Regions from separate parts of the Homo sapiens genome. Here regions 1, 3 and 4 are each linked to region 2. Evidence: promoter capture Hi-C in human tissues and cell types (Jung and others, 2019). All regions are on one chromosome and are shown on one strand. Each heading gives the region's core, a stretch centred on a gene start or on the middle of the fragment in contact. The rest is flanking DNA. Distances are from core to core; before and after follow the strand shown.

The links. The method cuts DNA at HindIII sites, captures the fragments that hold promoters and counts their contacts. A contact is called where the count stands out against the background at its distance.
Region 1: a fragment that was not itself captured here is called in contact with the fragment with the promoter of NKX2-2 in region 2 in 5 of the 25 tissues and cell types used here (H1 embryonic stem cells, aorta, heart right ventricle and 2 more).
Region 3: a fragment that was not itself captured here is called in contact with the fragment with the promoter of NKX2-2 in region 2 in 2 of the 25 tissues and cell types used here (dorsolateral prefrontal cortex and lymphoblastoid cells).
Region 4: a contact is called between a fragment that was not itself captured here and the fragment with the promoter of NKX2-2 in region 2, in 1 of the 25 tissues and cell types used here (lymphoblastoid cells).

Annotation. Positions count from the first base shown.
Region 1 is chr20:21,145,698-21,148,397 of GRCh38, reverse strand. The region is part of intron 4 of KIZ (kizuna centrosomal protein); the gene reads right to left. Among named protein-coding and RNA genes, the nearest start is that of KIZ, 21 kb to the right of the region's middle. The HindIII fragment of the contact is 4,353 bases long and covers 1-2,700 here.
Region 2 is chr20:21,512,682-21,515,381 of GRCh38, reverse strand. It overlaps NKX2-2 (NK2 homeobox 2), which reads left to right and starts at 1,318. Exons shown (of 2, transcript NM_002509.4): 1 at 1,318-1,971. The coding sequence starts at 1,713. The HindIII fragment of the contact is 15,862 bases long and covers 1-2,700 here.
Region 3 is chr20:21,001,115-21,003,814 of GRCh38, reverse strand. No RefSeq gene overlaps it. Among named protein-coding and RNA genes, the nearest start is that of LINC03083, 32 kb to the right of the region's middle. The HindIII fragment of the contact is 5,523 bases long and covers 1-2,700 here.
Region 4 is chr20:21,021,075-21,023,774 of GRCh38, reverse strand. No RefSeq gene overlaps it. Among named protein-coding and RNA genes, the nearest start is that of LINC03083, 52 kb to the right of the region's middle. The HindIII fragment of the contact is 5,260 bases long and covers 1-2,700 here.

The DNA.
Region 1 (2,700 bases), core at 191-2,690, 370 kb after region 2:
CTACTGGATGCAAGCAAATAATAGATGTCCTACACCAAAACTGAGCCAGAGTTTTTATATTTAAAAAATGGACACACACCACTTGATGACTTTTCTTGGCATCCAAGTTACTGCCTATGGTTGAAAGCTGTATAGCCACTTAAAAAATACCTTTTTATAATTCAGAATGATCACCAATTTGATAGATCCTCTCCCCTTTGTTAGTGTTTTCCACCTCAATGGCCATCCCCAATACAGGTCCTCCATTCTGTTAATTCCTCCTGTCTGAATGGAGCCTGATTTCCTCAGTTCCACGTACTCCTCCCCAGGCTCATCCTGCACAGCACTGCCAGCCTCATCTTCCCGCAGCTGCACACATGGGATGTGACTGCTCTGCTCACAAGTCCTTCCTTCATCTGCTGCCACACACACACACACACACACACACACACACACAAATTCCAGGAGGAAATCTCAGTTCTTAGCCTGGGACCATAGTTCCAGGTACCAAATCCCACAAGGTAGCTTTCCAAGCTCATTTTCTACCACTGACTGGCATCCTGCACATCCTTCTATGCCAGCTCACACACCACCTCCTCCACCAGGGCTGGGATTACTCAATTCACAGGAAGCAGAATCTTCTTTCTTCTCATTGCTCATGTTTGTCCCACGTGACTGGCACTTTATCACACACTATTCTGTGCCTTAGAAAGAACATTGCTTTCTGAGAAGCACTCTGAAGGTAAGAAAATTGTGGCCTTCATAGAGGGGCCTACTGTTGCTTCTCAAAGAGAACTGATGCTTAACAACTATTTATTGATTCAACCAGTGACTGTACTATGCTTCAGGAAAGGCCCTGGAGGTCAATGACCAAGACCAATTCATATGACTGCCCAAAGAAGAGAAGCTTGGATTTCCACTAAACAATAAGCTATAACTCATATGATAAGGAATGGTTCAGGAATTAGTATAAGGATTAACTAAAACATGATTTTGCTGAAATGTATTTACCTTTTAATTGGTTGAACATCAATGGAAAATTAGAAAATGCAAAATATAAATTTCTCAAAGTGTTACCTAATCGATTCTTATACAGCCAATAGTCAAAGCTTTTAAGGAAATGACACCTTTCCATATAAATGAAAAGACTTCTAATTATTATATGTAACATTTTAAGGGGTTGTCAACTGTATGTCTCTTGCCCTAATTTTAAATATGTCCTAAAAGGAGACTCCACAACTACATGCAAGGTAAAGAATCAGTGGGTAAATAAAGAAAAAAAAAGCTTCCGTTTTCCTGAAGTACCATTGACACTGCCGTGCTAAGAATATGTCTATCAAGAATGGCATAGAAAGAACTAACTGGCTTCTAGATTAAAACACATCAATTATTTCATGACCGAATATCAAATAGAAAAACTGCCTGAATGCTCTAAAATTCTATCACATCATACCACATTTGGCCTACATCGAATGGCATATACGTCATTTATCATTAAAGCCTTTTTATATAGGTCAAGGTTGCTGGGGCTTGGTGTTTTGTATCTTACAGTTTAAAGAATGCTCTAAGTTCTAGGGTTTTTTTTTTAATTTTTTAATCTATGAGGAAGGAAAACGAAAACTTCCTATAAACTCAGATTAATGCCTGCTAATGCACGGAAGAAAGAAAAACTAAAACCTTCCTCCTACTATAAAAACAAAATAGTGTGGCCTCTGTTTCTTTTCTGATAAGAGTCTTAAATACCCAACAGTTAACTGCATAATAACATTTACTGGCAGCCAGGCAGCCTGCTTAGCAGATATATAAAGCAGGTAAAAGGAGAAAAAGTTAATTTCTTGGCTGAATGATTCCATCGGTAGCTATAGGGCAAACCTGAAAGTCTTTTAGTAAAGTAGCAGTTGATTCTTCTATCAATCTGTAGCACACACACTCTTCCAAGGAAAGCATTAAATATGAAAATCATATCCCGTTATCATCTGTTTCCAGCTTTCAGCCCAGTAAGCTTTTCTTAATGAATGCTGCAGCCTAAGGAACAAGCACGCTGTTGGCTTTTCTGAATAATGGAGTGATGCTACCATTTTTGCTTATTACAATATCGACTGGCTGAGGGGGTTTCACACATAGTCACAAGTGACTACTCTTGCCAGCATGCTCCAAGTTATTACAAGATGTTTTTAGACATTTCATCTAAAAGAGCTTTACTGCTTTTAGTGAAGAAAACATCTACGGTCTTGAACAGAATCATTTATATGGAGATAGGCAGGAGGATTAGAAGCCTGCATTATAGCAGATACATAGCAGAATTTATTTAAGTATTCCTTGTCGATCTTTTTGTCTATTGCTTAGATATGCAATCTTTTCTTTCCACGTTTTCTGTGCAAAGGTTAAAATGTACAAAATTATGTATATTCGCACAAATAAAAGAATCAAAATGCCATATTTTGTTTACTTTTCATTTAAAACACTTCTCAAACTAAGAAAAGAGCAGCTACAAGGCATGATTTAGAAAAACAATTTTACCTACTGACAACACTGAGGTTTTCTTTAGAGTCTATCCTTTCTTCACAAAGTAACACCCTTTCAGCAAACTTAATTAAATTAGACATTAAAGCAATATTCTGTAAGCAAAAATCTTTAAATAATCACGTAAGGTTTAATCAAAGGGATCTTCCTAATAAGATGATTTTATTTAAAACAATATCTCAAGATATAAACACTCCA
Region 2 (2,700 bases), core at 69-2,568:
GGAGAAGAAAACTGGGGAGAAAACGAGGCATCGTCGGGCCACCCAGCGACCCCCCTCCCCCGCAGCTTTCTGGGTCTTCACCCAGGCTGGAGACACAACCCCCACCCCCACCCCCGCAATCCCGCCCCGCCGCCTTCCCGCTGCTCCACCTCTAGCCAGAGGCTGGAGAGGGAGGGGGCCGGAGAGGGAGGGATAATAGAGGGCAGGAAAGAGCAGGGCCGTCTGCCCTTTCCTCCACCCGGGGAAAGAGGCCCGCAGAGCCCAGAGGCAGCAGGGCCAGGGTCCGACCCCAGACGAAGTTGGAGCTCCTCACTCTTACCCCGCCCTCCCCGGGACCGCCCGCAAAGCAGAAAGTGAACTGCGCGTCCTCCTTGGCCGCAGAGAGGTGGAGGCGGGGGGTTGGGGGTGGGAGGTGGGGGGAGGCGGAGTGAAGGAAATAAATGAGTCTTTAGCAAATAAAGGGCGGCTGGAAGGGGGCGGGTCGCTTGGTGGTGGCTCTGGCCGGCCCGGAGCGGAGCTCTCTCCTGGGTTTTGGGCTCTCTCGCGGTTAACTGGAATCAATTACTTGCCTTGTCATTTCTAGCACTCATCCTTAAGCCTCAACCAAAATATTGACCTAGGAGGCTTACAGAAGTTGGGCTCTTGCCATTTGAACCGGATCTTGTTTAGGCAACCACCAACGATGGAAAGGAGAGATTTCCGCAGCTCGGCCTTCGCCCCCTCCCCCTTTTCCAAAGGCGCCACAAATCGCCAATTTTCCGGCTTGCCGGGGGTGGGCGCGCGGGGGCGGGGAGGTAGGAACCGGTGAATGTTAAAGAGGATTTTTTCCCTCCTCCTGGTTTCTGTTTTGTTTTCTCCCCTCCTCCTCCCCACCCCCACCTTTTTTAAGATGCAATTTGTTAAAACGGCCCTTTCAAGTGTGTGGACTCGCGAGCGACGCGGTGGCCCTTTGTATGTAAATACTGGGTTTAAAAAAAAAAAGGCTCGCCCCGTCTTTGCAATTAATTGACACGTTACACCTCTCATCTTGCTCTAGAGGGCCGTTGGCTGGGAGCGCGGAGCTCCCCAAAACCCACAATTTCACATCTGCAAATACTGTCTTCATCCACTTGACTCCCAAGACCCGCCCACACGTGGCCAACCTTTGCGTTTTTAATGTCTCTTCCCCCTTTTTTCCACCCTTCTCCCGCTCCCTCTCTCGCTCCCCCTCCCTCCCTCTTTCTTTCCCTCCCTCCCTCTCTTTCTCCCCCTCTCCCCGCCTCCCCAGGTTCGTGAGTGGAGCCCAGCCTTATATGGACTGATCGCTCGGGCAATGGCCCATTTTTTCCTCGCCACCAGCCGCCACCGCGCGCCGAGCGGCCGCCGGAGCCCGAGCTGACGCCGCCTTGGCACCCCTCCTGGAGTTAGAAACTAAGGCCGGGGCCCGCGGCGCTCGGCGCGCAGGCCGCCCGGCTTCCTGCGTCCATTTCCGCGTGCTTTCAAAGAAGACAGAGAGAGGCACTGGGTTGGGCTTCATTTTTTTCCTCCCCATCCCCAGTTTCTTTCTCTTTTTAAAAATAATAATTATCCCAATAATTAAAGCCAATTCCCCCCTCCCCTCCCCCAGTCCCTCCCCCCAACTCCCCCCTCCCCCGCCCGCCGGGGCAGGGGAGCGCCACGAATTGACCAAGTGAAGCTACAACTTTGCGACATAAATTTTGGGGTCTCGAACCATGTCGCTGACCAACACAAAGACGGGGTTTTCGGTCAAGGACATCTTAGACCTGCCGGACACCAACGATGAGGAGGGCTCTGTGGCCGAAGGTCCGGAGGAAGAGAACGAGGGGCCCGAGCCAGCCAAGAGGGCCGGGCCGCTGGGGCAGGGCGCCCTGGACGCGGTGCAGAGCCTGCCCCTGAAGAACCCCTTCTACGACAGCAGCGACAACCCGTACACGCGCTGGCTGGCCAGCACCGAGGGCCTTCAGTACTCCCGTAAGTAGCAAAACTTGGCTGCCGAGGCCGTGGTCCCCTCCATTCCTGCAGCCGCAGCCCGGGTTGGACGCTGGGAGTGAAAGGGGAAGGGGCCATGTAAGCCCGGACCCCCTCACTCGGATCCGTAGAAAGATTTTTAACACCTGTATAGGATGTCCTCTGCCCTCCTCTTCAAGCCTCCTTAGTTCCGGGAAAGAACTTGGTCTCCAAAATTTTTTTCAATGCGAGAAGTTAAGGAGAAAGAGGGAGAAGGGCTATACCTCCCAGGGGCTGGTATATGATGTCAACCCGGACCGATGGCTCCAGCCGCAGCCCCCGGACTCCGGCCGCTGGGAGGGACTGGCCTGGCGCCCTGGAGGTAGCCAGCGAGCCTCGTCCGGGTACGGGTGGAGGGTGGGGAGGCTTCGGGTGGCCCGGGTATAAATAGCTCACCCTGCCCCCTGCGCGATCATAGAGGACGCTTTGTGCAGTGCAGGGGGTGTCTAGAAGGCCCGAAAGCAGAAACGAAAGCCCCCAAAAACCTGCCTTAAATGGCCGAGCCGATCAATGCTGGGATTGTGGGGTATTTCTTTTAAAAATCTGCCCACGTCTCGCCGGAGAGGAAACCGCTTAAGGGCGCCGGAGCCCTTAACCCGCGATGATCTTCAGTGCCACTTCCCCCCCCAAATTCTCACCCACACTATGTGAGCCCCTTGAAAGGCGAGCCCCTAGCCCCCACTCCTACGGATT
Region 3 (2,700 bases), core at 70-2,569, 510 kb after region 2:
CTACTATGCAGTGGCACCAAGTATAAACCATTAGTTATTAAAATACTCTCCCTTTTCAATGAATCATCTTGGCCTTATAAGGGACAGCTTATTCCTTCAGGTCACTGTCTCAGAAGCCTTATCCTGTTAACGGGAAGGAGTCACCCCAGAGTTGGGTACCATCTTGGGCCCTAGAAAAGTTTCTCTGGGATGGAAAGTTTATAAGGGTTCTGAAGAGGAGACTAGCTCTCCCGGTAAGGATAATGTGGGAAGTCATCACGTGGAGGAATAAACAGTAGGACCCAAAAGTACCAGTTAGGTTGCTTGTGGTGGCTTAAAAACTCATCCGAAAATTATTTGAAACTCCTCCTATCAAGAGGTGAAGTCTATATCCCCTCCCTTTGAAGGAAGGGCCCACCTTTGTAACTACATGATGAATAGAATTTGGGGAAAGTGAGACTGTGTGACTTCCAAGGCTGGGTTAGAAAACGCCTTGTCTTTTCTTTGGAAACATTCTCTCTGGAGGCCTTTGGCTGCCATGTAAGAGGTCCCACCTGATTTCCCTGAGGCCACTAGATAGATAGACATAGATGGATAATAGATAGATAGGATACATGGATGACAGATAGCTGATAGGTGATTGATAGGTAGATAGATAGAATAGATATATGTGATAGGATAGATACGATAGACATATGGCAGATAGGATAGACATATATGATAGATAGATAGATGACGGGTAGGATAGAGACAGAGAGAGGTGACTGGGGAACCCCAGGTCTTCCTGCCCCCAGGTCTTCCTACCCTGAGCTGCTGAGCCTTCTCAGCCCAGGTGCCAGGCATATGAGTAAAAACACCTTCAAAATGACTCTATGCGCAGCCAGCATCTAATTGCAACCACATGAGAAACCCATGCAAGTATCACCCAGCTAAGCCATTCAACCACCAGATTCATGAGTAAAATAAACGCTTATTTTTCTTTTAAGTGACAATTTTAGGATTGTTTGCTATACAGCAACAGATCTATCTGGTGGCAAGTGACGGAATATCCCACTAAAATGATGTTGAGTTTTCTTTCCGACAGCAAGTCTGGAGGCAGCTTGTTCTGGGGTCCATTCATTCAGCTGCTCGCAGATGTCAGGGCCCTGAGTCAGCTCCTCTGTGGACATTTTTACTTTCTCCTCAGATAGCAAGACAGCTGCTGCAAACCCAAACAGCATATTCTCATTCGAGATCCAAAGGCGGGGTGGCGGGGAGTGGGAGGTGGGGAAGTGGGGATGGTTAATGGGTACCAAAAATAGTTAGAAAGCATATATGAGACCTGGTATTTGCTAGCACAACAGGGCGACTATAGTAAAAACAAATTTAATTGTACATTTAAAAATAACTAAGAGTATAATTGGATTGTTTGAAACACAAATGATAAATGCTTAAGGCGATGGATAGCCTATTTACCCTGATGTGATTATAACACATTACCTGCAAGTATAAAAATATCTACATAACCCATAAATATATATCCACATAACCCATAAATATATACACCTACTATCTACCCACAAAAAAATTTAAAAATCAAATAAAAGATCCAGAGGTGGGCACAACAGAGCATTTTGTCCTACGTGGTGCTCTTTTTATGAAAAGTCTTTCCAAAAACCCCGTTTGCAGACTGCCCCTTGGGTTCCACTGGCCATGACTTAGCTACAAGGAGGCAGGGAAAGAGAATAGCTCATCATTATAGTCTCTTAAGTAGCAGGTGGGCTCTGCCATCATGGAAAAGAGGGCTGGATAGCTGTTGAATGGACAACCAATAGTGTTCTCTAAAAATGAATTTCTAGATAATTGAAGTTACCTTAGGCGAAGTTTTATTTTAATGATTTATAATGAAAATCTAAGTGTTTTTTTTTTGTTTTTTATTTACTTCTGGTTCCTTTAACCACCTGGAGCCAGTTCTGTCCCCATTTGGGGCATGGAATCTACTCAACAGCATGGGGAATTTTTCCAGCCCCTCATGGGCTGCTTGGTTGTTGACTTTGCCATCTGTGCTGAGCCCTGTATTTTCACCCTGGCCTAGTTCTGGACTTCCTTCTTGGTTTAATGTCTGGATCTGCCTGGACCCCAGCATTTGGTACCACCCACAGGTATACAGACTCATGCTTTGAAAACATGCTTTCTGCACTAGTTGTCTATTGCTGCATAACAGATTACTCCCAAACTTACTGACTTAAAACACCTACTATTTATTATCTCACATCTTTTCTGGGGGCCAAACATTTGAGAGTGGCTGAGCTGGGTGGCTCTGGCTTACGGTCTCTCTAGAGACTGCAGTCAAGATGTTGGCAGAGGCTGAGGTCTCCTGAAGGCTTGGTGGGGGCTGGACAATCTGTTTCCAACAGCTCACTCACACAGCTGTTGCCTGGTGGCCTCAGTTCCTCACCTTCCATAGGGCTGCCTGAGTTCTTTAACATGGCAGCAGGCTTCCCCCCAATCAAGCAATCCAGAAAAGAACAGTCAGAAGCCAATTTATCTTTTGGAACCTAGTCAGCAGAAGTGACACACCATCACCTCTGCCATATTCTATTGGCTACACAAACCAACCGTGATTCACTGTGGGAAGAGCCTACACAAGGGTGTGAATCCCAGGACAGGAGGGTTGTGATGGTTAATACTGAGTGTCAACTTGATTGGATTGAAGGGTGCAAAGTATTGAACCTGGGTGTA
Region 4 (2,700 bases), core at 76-2,575, 490 kb after region 2:
TGAGAAGGACGTGTAGGGAATGGGGACAGAGCACAGACAGCATTTACTATACACAAACATACACACACACACACAGACACACACTCATTTAGTCCTCAAAATATTCAAAAGTGTCATTTCGAATACAGTTACCTGTATGGTTAAGAGCAGGCTTTGTCAGATGGTCTGGTGTAATTGGTAGGTAATGAGGCACACCAGGAGAGTCCTAAATACACTATCCAGTCTCCACTGCACCTGAACATGCTTACCACAATTTTGGTTGTTTAAGAATATTAAAAAATTATTTCGGTGGTTCAATAATAAAAGGGAATTTTTAGGAAAATGGGCCTAAGTCTTAGACTCTGTGCATATTTGCCTACACCTTGAGTGTCATATTTAGCTCATGATTCTGTAGGTTGTCTGGGCAGCTCTTCTGGGCTGGGTTGTCCCGGCTGACTCCTGTTGTACTCTTGCCAATGTACATCTGTGGGGTGTCTTGTGACTGGATGACCAAAGATGGCCTCATTCGCAAGTCTGATGGTTGGGCAGGTTGTTAGTTCTTATCCATGTGTCTCTCATCTTCCAGCAGGATAGCTCGGGCTTGTTCACATGGTTATCTCCAAGTGCAGCAAGAGGGCAATGCTAAATGCTTTTCAAGTCTCTGCTTACATCATATGTGTTGATATCCACTGGCCAATCAACAGAGTCCTATGGACAATCTCAGAGTCAGGTCTGGAGGGCACTACCGGGGGCGGGCTTGGGTTACTTCCTTATCATAGGTGGCCACGGCACATATTCAACAGCTCCTTTAATGGTCAGCTTTCCCTATATTTTCATTTGACTTTTAATTCAGTTATGAGATTAACCAATTTTGAGATTATAATATTTTATTTCATTAATTTTTTTGAGATAAAAATCTCGTTCTGGTACCCAGGCTGGAGTGTAGTGGTGCAATCACAGCTCACTGTAGCTTCAACCTCCTGGACTCAAGTGATCTTCCCCGTCAAGCCCCACAAGTAGCTGGGACTACAGGTGTGCACCACCAATGCCCGACTAATTTTTTAAATTTTTTGTAGAGAGAGGGTCTCACTATATTGCCCAGGCTGGTCTTAAACTCCCGGGCTCAAGTGATCCTCCTGCCTTGGCCTACCAAAATGTATTTTTTTAATTAAAAAAATAAAAAATAAGAGTAGCCTTTGGATCCCAACCAGATAAGGACTCTTCTCACCTGGCATTAGATCCCATCATTCTTCACTCAGAAGGGTTGTTTGTCAGGCATTTCCTTTTTCTGTGTGCCTTGGCTGAAGATGTATGAGGAGCTCACATCAATGTGGTTGTTGTTCTGTCAATGAACAGACCAGAATTTGCAAAACAAAATCATGTGGAAGCAAGGTCACTCAAGGTTGGTGAGCGATACTTCACTCCCTTAGGTATGCCCTATATTTTACCCATGATTACTCCTGAAAGTAAATTTTTGGATTAAAAAAATGGACACATTTTAACAAATGTGTAACCAGTAACATTCAACAGGAGGGGTAACCCAAAGAAACTCTTTATGATGCCAAATGTAGACCCAGGTAGTAAGTGCCTTCTTTTTCTTTCTCCCTGATTAAGCGCAAATATATATATATATATATATATATATATATATATATATATATATATATATATATATATATATATAGTCTCTTCTTGAGGAGTAGCAATGTTCTGGTGCTTTCCCCATCAGGAGGAGCAGTTTCTGCTTATGTGCCCTTGTCCAAAACTTGAACGTGTATTTTAAAAATGAGACACCCCCACCCCACCTCTCCCAAACACACAACCCTCAGACTTTACATTTCCCGTTTTCTCTATGTTGAGTCAATGTACCTACTAGTTGTGGAGCTGGTGTTCAGGAATAAATGATACACTGTCCTCAGTCAGCTTTGAATCTGAAGTCTGGGTCAGCAGTTAGGATCAGAGCAGGGGGTGGACCCAGGTCACCTGCACACAATAACATATTTACTCAATGGTAAGCTGGTTTGGGCTATTACTAGAGCAAATGCCACCTGGTTCTGGAAACATGGCAGGTGGCAAAATCCTTGCCTATGTTTAAGGACTGGCTTGGGAAGTAGGGAAAAGACTGAAGCTTAGACAGGCCAGGCAACTGTGGACTCTACAGCCCTCAACTATCCTGGCAGAAATGAGCCAGTGAGCTTAAGACCTCAGTCTGTGACAGACAGCTCCTTATTTGTGAGTAGTTAATGTTTCTTAGCAAGCACTTCTAAAAGAAATTGGTATGTAATGACAGCACTCACTGGAAAACAGGCCGATTAGAAAATGCACTAACTTATCTGGTATTCATTTGAAAAGTAAATGGATGCACGGCAAGGTGAGAGTTCACTATCAATTCAAATATTTTCCCTTAACGGGCTCTAGCACTCCTGCTTTAATTCAAGCAGAAACACAAGTATGAATAATCAAACTAGATGACGCTCATCAAGAACCTTTGTGCCTTCCACCATTTCAAATGGTCATTGAAGCTTAATGGCAAAAAATTTACATTCTTCCTTTAATTTGTATTCTATTCCTTCCTTCTGAGTGATGTGATTGTGGCTTGCTGTTGCCTGCTGTATTATTTTGATGCAAATGCTATGTTGTGTGTAGCTGAGTCCAATTTCCTGGCTTTTGCTAGCAAGAGGAGTGACTGTGAAAATAGTTGAAAATCAGGGTTATTTAAAG